7 separate regions of the Homo sapiens genome follow, and all the other regions are linked to region 3. Evidence: promoter capture Hi-C in 16 types of primary human blood cells and fetal thymus (Javierre and others, 2016). All regions are on one chromosome and are shown on one strand. The core of a region is centred on a gene start or on the middle of the fragment in contact, and the rest is flanking DNA. Distances in the headings are between cores, read along the strand shown. Region 1 holds the start of DDC (dopa decarboxylase). Region 2 overlaps FIGNL1 (fidgetin like 1). Region 3 holds the start of SPMIP7 (sperm microtubule inner protein 7). Region 4 overlaps DDC (dopa decarboxylase). Region 5 holds the start of DDC-AS1 (DDC antisense RNA 1). Region 6 overlaps GRB10 (growth factor receptor bound protein 10). Region 7 overlaps DDC (dopa decarboxylase).

The links. Contacts are between HindIII fragments. The CHiCAGO score rates a contact against its expected background, and 5 or more counts as called.
Region 1: the fragment with the promoter of DDC here is called in contact with the fragment with the promoter of SPMIP7 in region 3 in 9 of 17 cell types (megakaryocytes, activated CD4 T cells, total CD8 T cells and 6 more); the score reaches 8.8 in megakaryocytes.
Region 2: a fragment that was not itself captured here is called in contact with the fragment with the promoter of SPMIP7 in region 3 in 11 of 17 cell types (activated CD4 T cells, non-activated CD4 T cells, total CD8 T cells and 8 more); the score reaches 13.3 in activated CD4 T cells.
Region 4: a contact is called between a fragment that was not itself captured here and the fragment with the promoter of SPMIP7 in region 3, in 2 of 17 cell types (activated CD4 T cells and total CD8 T cells). The highest score is 5.9, in activated CD4 T cells.
Region 5: a contact is called between the fragment with the promoter of DDC-AS1 here and the fragment with the promoter of SPMIP7 in region 3, in 17 of 17 cell types (total CD4 T cells, fetal thymus, activated CD4 T cells and 14 more). The highest score is 23.9, in total CD4 T cells.
Region 6: a contact is called between a fragment that was not itself captured here and the fragment with the promoter of SPMIP7 in region 3, in 2 of 17 cell types (non-activated CD4 T cells and naive CD4 T cells). The highest score is 5.3, in non-activated CD4 T cells.
Region 7: a contact is called between a fragment that was not itself captured here and the fragment with the promoter of SPMIP7 in region 3, in 9 of 17 cell types (activated CD4 T cells, total CD4 T cells, naive CD8 T cells and 6 more). The highest score is 9.4, in activated CD4 T cells.

Annotation. Positions count from the first base shown.
Region 1 is chr7:50,564,155-50,566,854 of GRCh38, reverse strand. DDC (dopa decarboxylase) reads left to right here and starts at 1,450. Exons shown (of 15, transcript NM_001082971.2): 1 at 1,450-1,570. The HindIII fragment of the contact is 1,002 bases long and covers 1,284-2,285 here.
Region 2 is chr7:50,445,591-50,448,301 of GRCh38, reverse strand. FIGNL1 (fidgetin like 1) reads left to right here. Exons shown (of 4, transcript NM_001287492.4): 3 at 13-121; 4 at 1,005-2,711. The coding sequence starts at 1,015. Among named protein-coding and RNA genes, the nearest start is that of FIGNL1, 3.4 kb to the left of the region's middle. RefSeq lists an enhancer at 752-1,951. The HindIII fragment of the contact is 2,949 bases long and covers 1-2,711 here.
Region 3 is chr7:50,094,609-50,097,308 of GRCh38, reverse strand. SPMIP7 (sperm microtubule inner protein 7) reads right to left here and starts at 1,426. Exons shown (of 9, transcript NM_001161834.3): 1 at 671-1,426. The coding sequence starts at 1,223. The HindIII fragment of the contact is 3,144 bases long and covers 407-2,700 here.
Region 4 is chr7:50,499,353-50,502,052 of GRCh38, reverse strand. All of the region lies in intron 7 of DDC (dopa decarboxylase), which reads left to right. Among named protein-coding and RNA genes, the nearest start is that of DDC-AS1, 31 kb to the left of the region's middle. RefSeq lists an enhancer at 1-172. The HindIII fragment of the contact is 355 bases long and covers 1,267-1,621 here.
Region 5 is chr7:50,530,346-50,533,045 of GRCh38, reverse strand. DDC-AS1 (DDC antisense RNA 1) reads right to left here and starts at 1,287. Exons shown (of 5, transcript NR_033845.1): 1 at 1,164-1,287. All of the region lies in intron 4 of DDC (dopa decarboxylase), which reads left to right. RefSeq lists enhancers at 638-1,837, 2,197-2,366, 2,215-2,384. The HindIII fragment of the contact is 9,169 bases long and covers 1-2,700 here.
Region 6 is chr7:50,598,086-50,600,785 of GRCh38, reverse strand. All of the region lies in intron 17 of GRB10 (growth factor receptor bound protein 10), which reads left to right. Among named protein-coding and RNA genes, the nearest start is that of DDC, 34 kb to the right of the region's middle. The HindIII fragment of the contact is 1,116 bases long and covers 875-1,990 here.
Region 7 is chr7:50,480,562-50,483,261 of GRCh38, reverse strand. All of the region lies in intron 9 of DDC (dopa decarboxylase), which reads left to right. Among named protein-coding and RNA genes, the nearest start is that of FIGNL1, 32 kb to the right of the region's middle. The HindIII fragment of the contact is 6,680 bases long and covers 1-2,700 here.

The DNA.
Region 1 (2,700 bases), core at 201-2,700, 470 kb before region 3:
GCACTTATGGGGAATATTAGCACGCTTCTTCATCTCAAGCCCCCCCTCCCTCCCCCAGCCCATCTCCTAGAATGGATTCACTTGAATTCACTCCTGGTTTGCAGGAAAGTGCAGAAATCCAAGGAATGTGGTGGGAATTGGTGGTCCAACTTAAAGGGTCTAACCCTTTCACCCTTATCTCCCTCTGATCCATTTTCTACCCCAGAGCCAGAGTGATCTTAAACCATAAGTAAGCTAAGGTTACTGCTTTCTAGAAACACTTCAATGCCTTCTATTACAGTTGGGGGGATACAAATTACGTAACGTGGCTTGCAAGACTCCCCCTCCCCTACTTTGAATGGTCCTTAGGAGTTGGCCTTCTGTCAGGGCCTGGGAGATGCCGAGCTTGATCCTCAGTAACTTTGCAGAGGCTGTTCCCTCTTTGGAGCCCTTCCCTCACTCTTCCCCTTACCAAGGACAATCACTTCTTCGGTTCTCAGCTCCTGTGAGACCCCAGGCGGGAGCATTTGGGTGTGCGTCATTGGAGGGCTCACTTGCCATTCTTTCTCTTTTCCCTCTTTCCTCCAATGGCTCCTGTGGAGGTTTTGAGACTCCTCAATGTCACTCTGCTTCTCTCTCCAGTTCCAGTCCTAACAATAGGAACCCTAGGTGCCCCGCCCCAGCCTGCTCCAGTCCCCTAGGATAGAGCAAGGAGAGCTCTTCCCTGCATCTAGCCTGTGACAAATGGCTCTAGTGACAGCCCTCTCTGCCTTGTTTCCAGTCCTTTAATGAGCTGCCCGCAGCCAGCCTCACTCTCACTCTGCTCTTCACACCCACTGAGCCCCACGCTTGGAGCTGCTGGGGGTCTGCCAGAAAGACCAGCTCCTAAGATCCCTGCAGGCTGTGCCTGCTCAACTTCTCAATGTGGCTTTCTCAGCCCTGCTTTGTGCTCTCATAAAATTCTATCGACTTTGGGGTTTTTTTATAAATTTGTCCAAATTCCACTCAGAGTATTGTTTCATGCATCTCAACTATGATTTTGATGGGTTTGGGGAAGGAAGGTGAGTTCCTGGGTTCTGCTGATATCTGAACCTGGAAATCTTACCCATATTGCTGAGTGCTGCACCGGGAAGTGCAGGCTTACTTTGGGGCTGCCTTCAGGGGCAGGAGGCTGTGTGCAATGCAGGCATCACCTGGTGCAGGGCTGGAACATATCAGATGACTTAATGGGCTCCAAACTTGAAATCAGGGCTGCTTAGTAAAAGATGGGATGTATGTAGAATTACATAAGAAAGATCCAAGCTTCCAGGATTTGGAATGAAACAGTCTCTTCAGAATGTGCTCTCAGGATTCCCAGAGGCGAGCTATTTCTCAAGATTTCCTTGACCTTTGTCACCATCAGGAATTAATGTTTAACTGGCACATGTGGCTGGAAATGCAAGAAGAGGGAAACGTGTGGCTTGGAGTTTCAAGAAGAGTGACTGTCTCAGTGCCGAGTGCCTCAGCAGCTTCTCCACATGCTCTTCAGTCCCCAAAGTTGGAGAATCCCATCAAGGAGAGTAGCCCTGTAAGGAATTCGAATTTCCAGCATGTAAGTCTCTGATTTTATACCTACTCAGATTGTAGTAGTGGAAAACAGCAACATGTACCTTGACTCTCTGGCCCCATGTTACTGAACATTTGCTTAAAGGTTAACTCACTTGAGGGAGCTTGTGTGGTGCTTTCTCTTCTGCTGCAGGCTGGCAGGGGTTTTTGTTCAGTGGGGGCTGTGCACTTGGTGGCTCTCCATGCACACACAGTCACTCCAGTGACACATGTTTGATAGGTGCTGGGAATGATTTCATGACTGGCTCAGTAGCAAATGCGGGCCAGATGTGATTCTATTTTTTCCATGCACCACCAGGGATGGTGTTGGGTATTTTATTCCCCCAGCCTCTGTTTCTTCTGTAAATGAGGATTTTCTTAGTATCTACCTTGTGAGGATTAAATCCCATGATTTTATGGAGGTGATTAGTAAATGTGAACTCTGCCCTTCCCTTTATAACATCTGAGGCTCCGTCAGGGCTCTCTCCTTTTGGTGTATGTTATAGTTTACTTAGAGGTCAATTTGGTGTCTACCTATGCAGTGTGATTTGAGGAGAATTAGAAGATCTTTCCCACCAACTTGCCATGCTGAGTACAATTCCCATCTGAAAACATATGCGGATAGGAATTTCTATTGGGAGAATTGTTCGGTTATCGACTTCAAGGAGTCGAAGTTCTCCTGGTTTTAAGTCTGTTGTCGGAAGTATATAAGAATCAAAGCTTAATCGATGGAAATCATTGCTCTCCATCATGCGTGAGTTAAAACCATTACTTCTGAGTGGTCAGTTTACATTGGGCTCTGTCTAGAAGGTTTGCCTTCTTCACCTCCAGTCACATCCCCATTTCACAAGTGAGCAAACAGCCAGAGGAGGGGAGGAGGATGGCATAAGATCTTGCAGCTGGCAGAGACGAAATGTGAATGTAGCCCGTTTGCACTTGGTGCTGTCGGGCAGCCAAGCAATCCAGTGTGTAGGTCCAGGGCGACAAGCGCTGCTCCCATGGCTGGGGTAAGTCCCTCCAGCATTCAGCCTTGCTCCCTGTGCTTATCTGGATGCGGTGTAGGATGAAGATGACCCTATAGAACTCTACCCTGGAAGTCCTGGCAAAGTGGATATGTGACATTTTTGAAACCAGGGA
Region 2 (2,711 bases), core at 1-2,500, 350 kb before region 3:
TCTGTGACCTAGGATAGCAGCATCAAGGAGCATTGTGTACATGCAGAAGTGCACAGTACCTGGAGTGAAACTGCTTGTGTTCGATTTCTGATACCATTCATAACTGGCTGTGTGATCTCAAGTAAGTTCTTTAAGTCTCTCAGCCTCGGTTTGTACATTTGTGTGATAAGGATAATGATAGTTTTCAGATTATTTTCATAGTCATTGCTTGATTTGATTCTTCCAATGGTTCCTCTCACTTTGCAGATAAGAAAACTGAAGAACCAGCTGGGCGCGGTAGCTCACGCCTGTAATCCCAGCACTTTGGGAGGCTGAGGCGGGTGGATTACCTGAGGTCAGGAGTTCAAGACCAGCCTGACTAACATGGCGAAACCCCATCTCTACTAAAAATATAAAAATTATCCAGGGGTGGTGGCAGGTGCCTGTAATCCCAGCTACTTGGGAAGCTGGGGCAGGAGAAGCACTTGAACCCGCGAGGTGGAGGTTGCAGTGAGCTGAGAGCGCCACTGCCCTCCAGCAGCCTGGGTGACAGAGCGAGACACTGTCTCAAAAAAAAATAATAATAAAATAAAAATAAACCATCAGTGATAGTAAAAAGCTCACTTAAGCTCATTCACCTAGTTTTATAGATCAGACTTAAACCTCTTGTTTATTTTGTTTTGCTTTATGTATCTATAGTTCCATTGTTTTTAAAATTTAAAATTAATTTTAAACCTTATGAATGCTTTCCCTACAGATAAAATTATGTAACTAGAACAATTTAACTCATATAAATTATTATTTAATCAAGTCCTTAATTTTGAAGACTTCATATTGATATGTCTTGAATACTTGAAATCTATAGTTAACTAGATATTTCTCTTATAACCTGTCCTTATAAATCTACATTATAAATAAAAAGTCCAGTGTCCCTTCCTTCAGATTAGCAGAAGTTTCAAAATTACATTTAAAGTATTTTCTTTGTTTTCCTTCATACTGATTTTCATTTTTATTGTTTGTTATAGAACCTCTAAAATGCAGACCTCCAGCTCTAGATCTGTGCACCTGAGTGAATGGCAGAAGAATTACTTCGCAATTACATCTGGCATATGTACCGGACCGAAGGCAGATGCATACCGTGCACAGATATTACGCATTCAGTATGCATGGGCAAACTCTGAGATTTCCCAGGTCTGTGCTACCAAACTGTTCAAAAAATATGCAGAGAAATATTCTGCAATTATTGATTCTGACAATGTTGAATCTGGGTTGAATAATTATGCAGAAAACATTTTAACTTTGGCAGGATCTCAACAAACAGATAGTGACAAGTGGCAGTCTGGATTGTCAATAAATAATGTTTTCAAAATGAGTAGTGTACAGAAGATGATGCAAGCTGGCAAAAAATTCAAAGACTCTCTGTTGGAACCTGCTCTTGCATCAGTGGTAATCCATAAGGAGGCCACTGTCTTTGATCTTCCTAAATTTAGTGTTTGTGGTAGTTCTCAAGAGAGTGACTCATTACCTAACTCAGCTCATGATCGAGACCGGACCCAAGACTTCCCGGAGAGCAATCGTTTGAAACTCCTTCAGAATGCCCAGCCACCTATGGTGACTAACACTGCTAGGACTTGTCCTACATTCTCAGCACCTGTAGGTGAGTCAGCTACTGCAAAATTCCATGTCACACCATTGTTTGGAAATGTCAAAAAGGAAAATCACAGCTCTGCAAAAGAAAACATAGGACTTAATGTGTTCTTATCTAACCAGTCTTGTTTTCCTGCTGCCTGTGAAAATCCACAGAGGAAGTCTTTTTATGGTTCTGGCACCATTGATGCACTTTCCAATCCAATACTGAATAAGGCTTGTAGTAAAACAGAAGATAATGGCCCAAAGGAGGATAGCAGCCTGCCTACATTTAAAACTGCAAAAGAACAATTATGGGTAGATCAGCAAAAAAAGTACCACCAACCTCAGCGTGCATCAGGGTCTTCATATGGTGGTGTAAAAAAGTCTCTAGGAGCTAGTAGATCCCGAGGGATACTTGGAAAGTTTGTTCCTCCTATACCCAAGCAAGATGGGGGAGAGCAGAATGGAGGAATGCAATGTAAGCCTTATGGGGCAGGACCTACAGAACCAGCACATCCAGTTGATGAGCGTCTGAAGAACTTGGAGCCAAAGATGATTGAACTTATTATGAATGAGATTATGGATCATGGACCTCCAGTAAATTGGGAAGATATTGCAGGAGTAGAATTTGCTAAAGCCACCATAAAGGAAATAGTTGTGTGGCCCATGTTGAGGCCAGACATCTTTACTGGTTTAAGGGGACCCCCTAAAGGAATTTTGCTCTTTGGTCCTCCTGGGACTGGTAAAACTCTAATTGGCAAGTGCATTGCTAGTCAGTCTGGGGCAACATTCTTTAGCATCTCTGCTTCATCCTTAACTTCTAAATGGGTAGGTGAGGGGGAGAAAATGGTCCGTGCATTGTTTGCTGTTGCAAGGTGTCAGCAACCAGCTGTGATATTTATTGACGAAATTGATTCCTTGTTATCTCAACGGGGAGATGGTGAGCATGAATCTTCTAGAAGGATAAAAACAGAATTTTTAGTTCAATTAGATGGAGCAACAACATCTTCTGAAGATCGTATCCTAGTGGTGGGAGCAACAAATCGGCCACAAGAAATTGATGAGGCTGCCCGGAGAAGATTGGTGAAAAGGCTTTATATTCC
Region 3 (2,700 bases), core at 177-2,676:
TAAAAATGTTGATCTTTTTACATTCCTGCCTGCCAGACAGCTTTTATACAGAAAATAGTACCTGTGGCTTTCCTTTGGAGGTGTTTCTCATCATTTAGAGGAACTCCATTTACAGGAGTTCTTACAGAGAAACCACATGGTGCAGATGTCAGTAAGAGGTCATCAAACCTGCCTCCATGGCTGTGGAGCTATTTATGCAGAGTTTGCTTCATTTCAGCTTCTGTTCTTATTGGAGCCAAAAAATGTACGTTCAAGTACTTAAATTTTTCCCATTTTATTTCAATCCTTAAAACTAACTCTTTCATAATATCAGTGAATTCATTCTTTCAAAGGAGAGAGACAGATAAGGAGGATTTCTATACAATTATCAAAGTGATACATAAATTCCCCTGTGGTAAAACAAGCTTATCCATATATCTAGAATAAATAATGTTATATACTTTGTGTTAATCACTAATGAATGTTCTTTTCTTAAAGAATAAATTTTCTTTTACAAATAAGTTTATAAGGTTTATCATTCCTTTGTTTCTTATAATCTGTAATTTAAAAATAAAACCTTTTTCAGATCATTGTAATTTTGTTAATTTAACTGCCTAAATATTGAATCTTATGTCCATACTCTCTTCCCTTGAGCATTTAAAAAATAGAAAGTTCATGTCACTTCATTTACCTCCAAGTCTTGCTCTGATAGAAATGTCTGGTACTTCCCTGGAATTCCATCTCCTGTTCTGTTGCAGTTCTTCTGATAGAATTTTTTGCCTTTTTATTGTTGTTTGAAATCCTGTGTCTGGTCTGGGAACTCGATGTTGAGGTTTCACATCACTAAAATCCACTAGGGTTGGTATGGTTCTGCCAATGCCAGGATTTAAATCAGCATCACCACCAGGACTCATAAACCCTGAACAGGAATCACCTAAGGTCACATCATCCCGAAGTGGAAATAATGGATAATGTGGCCCATATGGTGGGGGATAAGGATCATGTAAATGATAGTCTGGCAAAACTGAAGGGGGATAAGGGTGAAATTTAAGAAAAGCAGGGTTGCATTTCTTTTCAAACCTGCCATAGTTATGTCTGTTCTCAAGACCTTTCACAAAAGGCATGTTCATTTTTCTTAAGAGATCACAATAGTGTGGGTAATCTATATTCTCAACAGTTCCTGAAAGGATGGACCTTTTAGAGATACTTATCTTTCCAGGTGTGTCCTGAATTTCTACATCCATGGCCTTTTTCTTTAGAATTTTTGATAACTATAAAGTATTTCTGATAATTCCTTTATATTTAACTATATAAACTCTATTGCCAATAACTAAAGATCTGTGTTAAACTAGTATAAAATTGACACAGCTTTCTAAATGTTGGCAGATAATTTTGTTTTTCTTTTTAAGGCAAATATTTTCCTCCACCAAAGGAAGAATAGGGCAATGAAGGAACATGACATAAGGAGAATAAAGCAGAGCCCTTGTTGCCTGGCAACGGCTAGAATTCTTAACACATTGAACCATTTATTATGTACATCACAATTCTTAAGAAAAACAAAAATAGCCTTGGTACTAATATTTCCATGATACTTTTCTCCCCAGTGCTCAGGAAAGCTGTGTTCATTTACTTATTTTAAAATTTTTCCATAAGTTGGTATTTTATGGGTATAAAATATATTTAAGGAGTGTAAATAAAGCAGTTAATTCAGTGACAATACATTTCTCAAAAGTATATATGTGACTACAATTAAGTATTTATATATATAACACTTGCTATCTAATTAAATGTAAATCTAAATGCACTACAAAATATAAACATTACTAAAGTTAAATTGGTACATCTAATTTTTTTTTTTTGGTGGAGTCTCACTCTGTCGCCTAGGCTGGAGTGCAGTGGTGTGATCTTGGCTCACTGCAAGCTCCGCCTCCCAGGTTCACGCCATTCTCCTGCCTCAGCCTCCCAAGCAGCTGGGACTGCAGGCGCCCGCCACCATGCCCGGCTAATTTTTTGTATTTTTAGTAGAGATGGGGTTTCACTGTGTTAGCCAGGATGGTCTCGATCTCCTGACCTTGTGATCTGCCCGCCTCGGCCTCCCAAAGTGCTGGGATTACAGGTGTGAGCCACTGTGCCCAGCCCTAGTATATCTAATTTTTAAGAAAAACAGAAAATTATAATGAAAGTACAGGTACATCTTTACATGCCCTAAATTATCTTTACTTCCCTTAAATTTGCCATGGTGTCCAGAGTAAGAACAGTAAGAGTTTTAAGTTCATTTTAGGAAACCACAATGGGTATCAGTTAACTGTCTACACACAAAATATCATTTAAATCACTAATGTATTGGTTCACTTAAAAGCTCTTTCACCTGGATAATTTCATCTTGCATGAACTACTATAAGAGGAAATGCAAATATTAGAATTTGGGGTAAAAGTTCACATCATCCTTACTGCAGCAAAAATGTTAAAACAGGCAAGATTCTAGCTTTGAAGAGTCAGGCACATAATCGTTAATCAGGCCAACTGTCAAGGGTGATATGTTTGGTACAATCAGAATGCCTATGCCCCATTGAAAGTCTTTACAATTTTGAGATATACTATTAAACAAGTGAGATTAAATTAGGTGGTTAGGCTGTCAGTTTTAAATCCTTCATCCAGATCATAGCATATCAAGTGACAGTTTTTAGTCCACCCATGATCACTCATTTCTTCATATCAAAA
Region 4 (2,700 bases), core at 195-2,694, 400 kb before region 3:
CTGTGGCCCAGGCTGGAGTGGCACAATCTCAGCTCACTGCAACATCTGCCTCCTGGGTTCAAGTGATTCTCCTGCCTCAGCTTTCTGAGTAGCTGGGATCACAGGCACATGCCATCATGCCTGGCTAATTTTTGTATTTTTATTAGAGATGGGGTTTCACCATATTGGCCAGGCTGGTCTCAGACTCCTGACCTCAGATGATATGCCCGCCTCAGCCTCCCAGTGTGATGGAATTACAGGCGTAACCCACTGTGTCCGGCCAACATTTCCATTTTTATTGATGGTGTTATATTACTAACTGTTGGTGGTACCTTAACAATTAAGTCAGCACCCTTTTACCTACTTTCCCTCTCCTGCTACCATTTTCCTATCACCAGATATTTAGCATTCTCCAACTCCAAGCGGGACTGTTCTGAGATCCTGAGCTGACCTTATTCTATATATGATTAGAATAATCTAACATAATTCAGATAAGTTATTCACCCACCATCATTTGACAAAGAAAACAAATCAGAAGATGGTTTTCTTCCAATTGCTGCCTTAGGAAAGACATTTTCTTTTTATTGCATTTGAAATGATTTGCCAGTGAGGGTATTCAGATTGGTCTGCTTGGATGGATCAGTTGTCTGGCAGGTTTTACTGAGAAGATGGAATACAAAAAGTGGATAGTTGAAGTCAGTTAGGTTGCCGATGGGGAAGTGGGGAAACTGAGGACGAGGGTATGGGCTGAGTTGGGGAGGCCATCTCAAGGTGTGAGGAAGGGAATAGCACAGGGCAGGCAGCCAAAGCTGCATCCTGAGGTGCCAGCATAACTGAGAGAGGACGTGCAGCTGGAGGGGCAGCCAGGCCTGCCGCAAGTTCCTGGGAAGTCTCAGAAGGAAAGAGTCACTGACAGCAGGAAGCTGGAGGGGTGTGAGCCTGTCCCATCCCTCCCCACTGAGGCAGCCTTGCCTCAGGGCTAGGTGTGCCCCTGGTGCATGCAACTTCTCAAGCTCTGGCCGAGGGTCTCTGTGTCTGCCTGGTTCCTAGATGGGCCGTGCTATGCAGTGTGTGCTGTTAGTGGATCACATATGAGATGCAGAATGCAGAATGCAGAGGCATGCCCACAGCTCCATGCATCCCCATGGAAACCAGAGAAGCCCTTCAGAGTCCACTTCCTTTAGGGGTCTGTAAGTTCCCTTCTGCAGGAGTTGTAGGCCAACTGCAAGCTTAGAGAGAACACAGTCCTCCACAAAGCTGATAAAAGACATAAGGCGTTTCAAAGCTTTGACTCAGTTTAATCATCAGGATGAAAGCCCTCAGTTGGATTAAGGTCAAGTGTGTCCTGCGGACACGGATATCCACCCCAGGGCATGGGAGGCCAAAGGTCACAGAGCAGTGTGGACCTGAACCGAGGCTTAGGGGCTCATCACTTCCCCCAGAATCAGTCTCACCTGGTGCTTGCATAACCCCAGATGGATGCAGCAGTGAGCCAGGAAGAGCACAAGGCCTTAGGATTTGCAGAGTTTCTCCCTGAGGAGTCACTCAGTAATCATGGGATGTCCATGCCTGTAGCTCAGATCAGCGGTAAGGTTGAGAAAAACCTCAGATCACATCATAAGATAGGTGTAAATTTGAAGCTTGCTGTAGTCTGAACGTTTGTGTCCCCCGCAAAGCCCATTTGCTGAAATTCTAACCTAAGGTGATGGTATTGGAGGTGGGGCCTTCCAGTGGTAATGAGGTCAGCACAGTGGAGCCCTCCTGATTGGAACTGTGACTAATTAGTGCCCCTGAGAGTCTCACGCCTCATTGCACAATGAGCACCATGGATGGTGAGTGAACGGTGAATCCATGGATCCCTACAAATGCATATGCTGACCCTGACACCTACCCCACGGTACCCTGACACTGGTATCCACCCTGTGAGGTGAGGGTGGCTCGCGCCCTCTCTGTGGTCCTTCACCCTTCAACTCTTACTCTCCTGGGTGCCTAGGGCTGAGAGGCAGCAACCATGGAAGCCACATTTATTTCTCCCCTACTCAGTGCTGGGGTCCTGGCAAGCACATTGTAAATATTCCCTTGCTCATCCCTTGGGCCTATGGGTACTATTTCATCTCCATCTTCCTGGGAGGAGAGTGAGGCTTGGAGAAGTAGATAGGGCCCCTTGGCTGGGGAGCAACTGGAAGCAGGAGTTGAGCCCAGATCTGTCAAAATTGAGGGAGCATGCTACATCTGTGGCTCTCCCAGCTCCTGAATGAGGCAGCCCCTGCCCACAAGGCTGCTATGCATGGTTGGAAAACAGAACCCTGTTCATGAAGAAAGCAGGGGATGGTCTAAGATGGTGTAAAGTAAAGAACTTCACCTGGTGGTGGGGATGGAGTGGGGCAGGTAGAGGTCAGCGTGGACTGTGTGCAGACCTCCCCTTGGATGATGTTTGGGGGAGGACTTGAGAATGGATTAGCAAAGGGAACCAGGAAGGGAATTCCAGGTGGGTGGAAAGGGTGGTGTCACTGGAGAGAAATGCAGGTGAGTAACATGAGGCTGTCACACGATGGTCCCTTGGAGTTACACTTAGCCGCCAGGGTCAGGAGAGAAAACCAAGTGGTGCAGTGGCTTCCATTTTCCCTGGTGTGTCTGGGGCCAGCAGCACACACACTGCCCTCAGCTTTAGACCCTTTGAATGAGGGGGCCTTTTGGGGATTCAGCCATTAGTTCAGCAAA
Region 5 (2,700 bases), core at 38-2,537, 440 kb before region 3:
ATATAAATATATAAATAATACCTAAGATATTTGTGTTGCATCAAATTTTCCATTCTTATAAAAAAAATTTTGGAGGACACCCTTTAGGATGAAGTGCAACAATCTTCCAAGATGATCACCTTCCTCCTAGGACTCTCCTGGCTGTATTCATGTTTAACATTCATGCTCCCCACTAAATCCAAATGGAACAAAACAAAAATTGAAGCATTTCTAGGTCATTGCATCTTATAACAAAAACAATTTCATATTCAATTTTTTCAGCAGATGATTCCTCTAATTATATACTCCTCAAAAAAATCTTATCAATCCCTCATAATATAAGCTGTGTCTATTATAATAAGAGCTACTTTTCATTGAATAGCAATTATGAGCTTGGCTATGTTTTAGCCTATGTCTTGTGCTTTGTGTTATTGTCTTCATCCTCAAAGTATTTATGAAGATTGATTGGATTATGGACAATCTTTTTCATGGATGAGGATATTGAGTCCCAGAAAGTTAGTAGAACATGCATAGCAGCAAAAGTGAATTAAAGCCAAGGCTAGTAGGAAAGACAACCAGAGTTATGACTGTTACACCAGCTCATCCCTGACCATAGGCTTGGGTTGGTGTCCAGAGATGTGCATGCTACTATGGGCTGCATTTTCGTTTCATTAAAGACAACCTCATTTTTGAGAGACCATACAAGTCTTTAGCATTTGGGTAGGAATATTCCTGGCATCTCTCAGCCCCCGCTTTAACACAATCTTCCTGTGAGCCCAATCCACTCAGTTTTTTTCTGGATGAAAGGAAGAAATGGGATCTGTGTTTGCCACCGGAAGCTCACCCTTCTCAGCAGACAAGGCTGATTGTCTGTAATTGGTGAGGCCCCAAAGAGCACAGGAGCCTGGTGACAGCCTGTGAGCCAGCCTGCATTATTGATCCCCTCAGAGCTGTAATCACAGCTGTGGGCGTCAGCGCAGTGATGCGTGTCTGAGTCAAATGGCAAACTGTTGTTGTGAGGCTGGACAAATGTGGTCTGGGAAAATGGTCTCTTAATTGGGTTTTAAAGTTCTTGTGGAAGAAAAGACAATTTTTTGCTTCGAAAAAAACTGAAGATGAAAGGACATTTCTGCTCACGGCATCAGCAGCCAGAAGCGTCAGACCTTACCAGCATCCCCTCCTACCTCCTGAGCAGGCTTGCCATGGCAACCTTTGTCTGCTGCTATCGCACAGAGCCATCGTTCCTGCTCTGTACCACATGTCACCCTCCCCGTGCTTCTCTCCGCGAAGATCTGCTGCCAGCAAAGTGCAGAGAGCTCCACCTGACATCATGCTTGAGGCCACCAGGCCACCCTGGTGGCATCGGGGTGGTGTGGTTCTAGATGTGCTACTGACGATTTGCTCCTTCAGGCTTTTAAAACATCATTTTGTTGACTTAAGAAGGTGAATTTTCTCTTAGGACATGAACTAAGCTCCCCCATCCCCCCCCAGAGAAAAGCCATAATGAGTTGTCATGGTGATTCAGGTGATTCATGGTGACTCATTTCATTAGAATGTTCAGAGAATGAACACCTGCGTTCCAACGCTTCAAGCAGAGGGTAGAATTTAGCCGGGGAAGCTGCAGTCACGCCTGCTTGTCAAGCATCAGAACAGGGAATTGTGCCTTCCACCAGGCTTTTCATGTTACATTTCCAATGAGAATGGGTGGGACATGACAAACAAAATGTGTGTGGGGGCAGATAGGGGGACAGGAGGAAATCAGGGACAGGAATGATGGGGTACATAGGAGAAGTGTAAGTAAGGTACAATGCCTGCTCTCAGGGAGCCTGGGTTTCCTGGGATGGCTGATTTAGCTTTGCCAGCCAAAATTGGTTTCTCCCCTTCTCTCTCCTCTGGCCAAGGTTTGTAAACCTGGCCTAAAACAATGTCTAAAATCATTGCTCATGAAAATATAGCCTGAAGGAAATAAAGTACCCATTTTAGATGCTGAATTAAGAGACGCATATATCTGTATATTTGAACCCATCCATTAGTGCTACAGAAACATGAATAAATGTATTTATCTTTCAATATTACTGTCCCACCAAAGGATGTGGGTTGGCTCAAAAGAATAAGTAAAAGTAGTGTCAAGGCAAAGTCAAAATGAGAAATCAGGGTCAATGAAGAGAGCATCAAATGTTAAGAAGAGAGGTTAGCATTTCTACTTAATTATTTTATTATATATTTCTCTGTAAAAACCTATCATGTTATAAACTTTTTCAGAGTCAACAAGAACCTACCTTCTTTTATTTGCCCTTTCTAATGTCCTTTCATACTGGTCGGTAGATGGGTTTCTTCTACGACTTACTTAAGAGGGAAGGTGCTCGCTGCCCCTACCTTTCTAGGCCCATGGCACCCTAAAAAGCGCAGGCGTGGGCTCACTCCTAACCGTGCCCTACCTAGCTGCTGATTTGGGGCAAGTTAGTGAACCTCTCTGCACATCTGTTTCCCCACCTGAAGATGATAAAACACAAAAATGGGATTATTTTTACAACTTAAATGGGATAACATAGCAGGCCCTGAATCCATTAGTTTGCCAGGGGTTCCCTAACAAAATACCACTGACTGGGTGGATCGAAGAAGAATTTCTTTTCTCACAGTCCCGAAGGCTGCAAGTCCAAAATCAAAGTGTCCACAGGGTTGGTTCTCCTGGGGCCTCTCTCCTGGGCTTGCAGATGGCCA
Region 6 (2,700 bases), core at 183-2,682, 500 kb before region 3:
TCATGAAGGAGGCTGACCCTCGTTTCATGTATGGAAGGACTTCTTTGTCTTTTGGCAGTTCTACCCTGTTTACATTTTTTGTCCATTTTTCTAATCAGTTAAGTTGCAGACACTTTTGTTTTTCCCACTCCTAAATCATAAAGGGGTGCATTCATGTTGTCTTGTACTTGGATTCTTTTCCCCCCTCTCTCCTTCCTTCCCTCTGCTCCTCTTTCCTTCCTTCCTGCTCTCTGCATTCTCCCTTTCTTTCTTTTGTCCTTAGTTGGTTCATTTTTGGTCTTTGTTTGGTTTTGTTTCGATCCCAGATGCACTTGGGTTTATTTATCCTCACTGCTGGGTAGAGTATGGGTCTGATTTTATTTTGTTTCCCATGTGGCTTTACAATTGCTCCAAAACTCCTTACTCAAGATGTCAGCTTTATCACAGAGCAGTCTCTCAAAGCATTAGAAGCAACTCCTCCTCTAACTGTAAAACAGTATGTTTCTCCTCTAAAGTTTCTGGCATGCCTGAGGAGAGAAAAGCCTAACACAGAAATTTCTCTTTCTGTGACGTTTTTGAGTTAGGGGTATCTGTGTGTTCTGGGGCTTCTAATACAGTGTATACCTGCTTATACCCCTGAACCGTATCAACAGTGGGCCCAGAATGTTCTAGGGGGACCTCTGTTACCCTTGCCGTGTGTGGGAGGCAGCGCAGGCTCACTTCGGGGTAGCGTCACTCTGCTGGAGAATTGGCACTTCCACAGGAGGCTTTATTTGGTGCTGTGGCCACTAAGTGTCCTCCCCAAGGCCAGGGCAGTGAGGACGCCCATCATCCCGAGGCGAAGATGTTTCTGAACCTTGGGGGCGGGTGTGGCAGTCATATGTTTGAAGAAGCTTCCTGAGTGATTCTGGGATAAGGCCCACTCTGTCCACTTTGGATTGAAAGGGCTGCCTTGGGGTGGGGTGGATTGCAGGTCAGCACTGCTGGGCCACCTGAATTGTGTGTCAGCGTTTTGCTTCCCCCAGCCATGTTTGTCTTTCAATTTTTCTCGGATCAGAAACCCAGTTGGTGAGGCATCCGTCTTTCCAGACCTGTAAAGCGATAGAAGCATCACCTCTGTTACCTTCCGTTCCCCAAATCAGCCCGGCTGGTGCCGCCCGTCTTATTCTTCAGCAGGTGTTCCTCTCCGTCCTCCCTGGAGCCTTCCTCGTCTCCAAGGCTGTCATTTCCAGCTCCCGCCTTAGGCTGCTGGAGCGCTAACCACACACAGAAATGCAGATAATGGGATTGATTCAGGCGTTAACACAGGAACAGCTCATCTTCCTCTCAATTCTTGGGTGTAGGGAGGAGGTGTATTTGTATAACAAGGTAAATAATCCATTTCTAATCTTTACTGATCCCTGCAGAGATGATGAAGGCAAGCCAGTTTAAAGAGTTAAACAACAAAGAAAAGAAAACCACCTCGAAAAACAGCACAAGATTCTGGACAGACAGTATAACAACAGCATTTTCCATAGCTTTATTCTCAAACGGTGTATGCAGTTAGAAAGAGACATCAGAGCCTTAAATAAGCCCGTCAAGTATTCCTGAAATCCCAGGATCCAGGCAGCTCCCCTCCCATCCCCGTCCCCACCCATGCAGCTGAGCGTGTGCGCGCACATACTCGTGCTTTACCAGCCCTGCACTGAATTTGCCGCCTGCTTCCTTCCTGTCTTGCCACCCATGCCCGTCCCAGAACTGCAGGAGAAGGATCTTTTTAAGGGGAAATCTAGGTCTGTAGTCCTCTCTGCCAAACAATCCCACCCCACCCCCAACACCATGCTTATCCCCCCAGGGCATGTGGATGCCCCCCCTGCCATGCCCACACTCATGGTCCAGCCCCACTGGCCTTCCTGCTGTGCCAGGCATCGATCCCTGTGTCATCTGCCTGTGCAGTCCCTCTGTCTGCACTTCATGCCCCTCCACATGTTGGAAGGAAACCTCTTCGGCAAAATTTGAATTCTTTGAAGCTTTCCCTTCTCCCAACCGCAGAAAGAGAGGTGTTATCCCCAGGACTCACATAGCACCCTTGTAAGAGGGATACTTTCACTTTTCGTCTGCTTTTCCTGCTGAACCAGGAACTCCTCCATGACTGGCTGTGTGACCTTGGGGAAGTTGCTTAGCTTCTCTGTGTGTCACTTCCCTTATCATTGTGAAATGAAGATAACAGTATCACCATGAAGATGAATGAGTTAATACATGCATGAAACACTTTGCACGGTGTCTTGCTTGTAAACGTGGTCTAGATTGTACTCTGATCACTGTCGGGTCCTGTCACAAGGGGCTCTTCGTTCATTTATGATGGACTGGTGAGTGCACCATCCCTAGCATCGATTCTTAAGAACTTACCTGGTTCTTGCCACTGTCCATCCTGGGCCGTGTTTACAACTTCTGAGCCTGGTTAGTAGTCACTTAACATGCTTAGCTTCTCCCTGGGCATCTTTCCTATAACTGCAATCCCCTTAGAAATCACTGGATTGTGGCAGTTGGCTGATTGCAGTGATTGTTATTTCAAGCTACCTTGTATTGCGTGTGATCATGCACAAAGCTGTATATACATCAGCCATGGTCTTCTCAATGGTCCTGTAAGAGAAGAGTTATTCTGGCTGGGTGCAGTAGCTCATGCCTGTAATCCCAGCACTTTGGGAGGCCGAGGTGGGCGGGTCACCTGAGGTCAGGAAT
Region 7 (2,700 bases), core at 54-2,553, 390 kb before region 3:
TTATCATATTAGATGCAGAAAAAGCATTAGATAAAAGTCAACAACATTTCAGGACAAAATGTCTTAGTAAAATCGGAACAGCAGAGAACTTCTTAATCTGATAAAAGGTAACTACCAAAAAACATAGTGAACCTTTACTTAATGGTGAAATATTAGAAGCACTCCCTTTAAAATCAGAAAAAAATGAGGATTCCCATAATCTGCACTTCTATTCAACACTGGACTTTCCTAACCTCCATAATAATTTAAAAAAAAAAAGATAAAGAAGTAAACATGTAAGGATCAGTATGGAAGACATAAAACTCTCATTGTCAGATGATGTAACCTCAATAAAAAGAGAATCCTCAAAGTATTATTAATAAAAGAACCCAGCAAGATGTCTAGATACACTAACATTTTTAAGGTTGCATTTTTTTACATCTACATTAAACAGTATGTGTAATTTTTACAAAGGTAACACTCTTTATAATAGCAAGAAAAGATATGTTTACTATGAACAAACATATCCAAACCTGTTCAGATTTATATGGAGAAAATTCTATAATTTTTTGGAAGTCATTAAAGAAGTCCTAAGTAGGATGATATGTTCATAAAGAAGACTCGATATTAGACCTCAGCACAATTCTAATAAATATCCTGGCATAATATTTATATGGGCCAAGAATAGCCAAGATAATTGTGAAAAAAAATATAGTGAGGAAGTTGCCTCCTTAAATATCAACGTGTGTGTGTAAAGTAACCACGACTGAACTCATGTAGCACCAGCGCGGGCACAGATGGGTAGAGCACATTAGAAGAGAGAGCCAGAAACAGACTCCACATATTCCAATTAGGGCTTCTAATGTTTACAGAATTGTTGCAATCCAATATGACAAGATAAGCAATCTAACAGAAAAATGAACAAAAAATTCTTTATCAAGGAGGAAACAGATATGCTTAATAAATACAAAGTTACTCACCCTCCTTAGTAATCAGAAATGTAAATTGAAATCCCAGTAAAACACTATAGGTTGTTTACAATAGTCTCTTCATACTAAACGTTGACCAGGATATGGAAGAGGAGCTCGCAGACTGCAGAACTGTTGTGGAGACTGATTTGGAGCTATTGAATACGGCCGTAGATAGATGCTTTCCTCCAACCTTAACATAGCTCACCTTGTGCTATTCCATTGGCAGATGCATGGCCGACGGGCGCTGCCACTAGGGGCTCCAGGAGTATGCACAGGGATGGTCCCATGTCCACATCAGTGTAGTTTGTCTATCAATAAATGGGAAATGATAGAATGAATGGATTGGGATATGTGCATGCACTAAAATCCCAGGAGGTCATACAAATGAGTGAGCAAGAGCCCTGCGCATGAATGAATGTGAAACTCATAGGTCTATTTTGGGGTAAGAAAGCAAATTATAGAAACATGCATGGAATTATAAAATTTAAGATAATACATCTTAAGTTTATGGTACAGTATGTTTAGCAGTGTGCAAAATAATATAGATTGCTTAGGGATTTGGAGAGAAAATTTTGTAGAACTATGTAAGAGTAGGAACACAAATTCAGCCTTGTGGCCTCTTGTGTGGGACAGGGAGAGGAAGTAGGTGAGGGACAGGAATATTTAACTTTTATTAATACTTATAATTTAAGTTTTATTTCATAAGCAGGGGGTGGTGATTTATTCTTTACATCTTTTGTATGGCTTTAATTAGTGCAAAATTTTTTAAATTAAAAAACAGCTGGAAGGCCCCTGCTGAGAATGAGAAGGGAAAGTGTGATCTTTGTGGACAAAGGGCAGAGTTCTACTGATAGCCATAAATATTCACATCCCTCTTGGTCCCCTCTTTTTAAGTCTAGGCACAGAGCTTTCTCTAATGCAGAGAGACCCAAAGGACCTCCCCCCACAACCAGTGGCTCCCCATAAAATGCCTATGATGCAAGAAAATTCCTATACACACAAAAAATTAGGTGCAATTTTCTTCCACAAGTCAAAGAAAGAATATACACTAGACAGCTTATTATTCCTACTGACTTTGTCTGTCTTTAACCTTAAAACAAAAATAAAGGCTCAATGACCATTTATAGATAAATCCAGCCTCTCTCTCACCTCCTTGGTAAGCCACATCTCAGCATCCTATTTTGTGCTCACTGGGTTCTGTCTTTCAGGGACTCTCACGTTTTATTTGTTTTCAAGCCTAAGCTACTGTCAGATTAACATTTCTTCTCTAGTTTGCCCTTAGGATACTTTATTTGCTACAAAATTGCTTTGTGATGGTGTCACCACACTGCCAATGAAGCAGAGCAATGGCAATTACCGTAAAGCACAGGCCCTTCAAAGGCCAGCCCAGTGAGAGTTTGCGTCCGAGTTCTGCAGAATGACTACCAGTGTGAGTGCTCTGTGTGCAGACAGGTGAAAGAGGACCCCTGTCTGCAGCCCAGGGCATCCTGGCCTTCTCACTCATTAGCCCTTGGGATTTTCACCCCACACACACTTACTGATGCCAGCAGGGCCAGTCACTGTGCTGTCCCTGGAAAGAGAGAGAGGAGCAAATGCTAACCTCTGTGGTTTTCCCTCTTGACACCAATTCTCCAACTCTGCAGACACCAGCTGGGTGTCCTAAACTCACTCCTATTCTGACTGTAACTACCTAGAGGTAGCGTCAGACTCCACAGGGTTAAGGGCTCAGTCCCATCAGCCGGCCCCCACT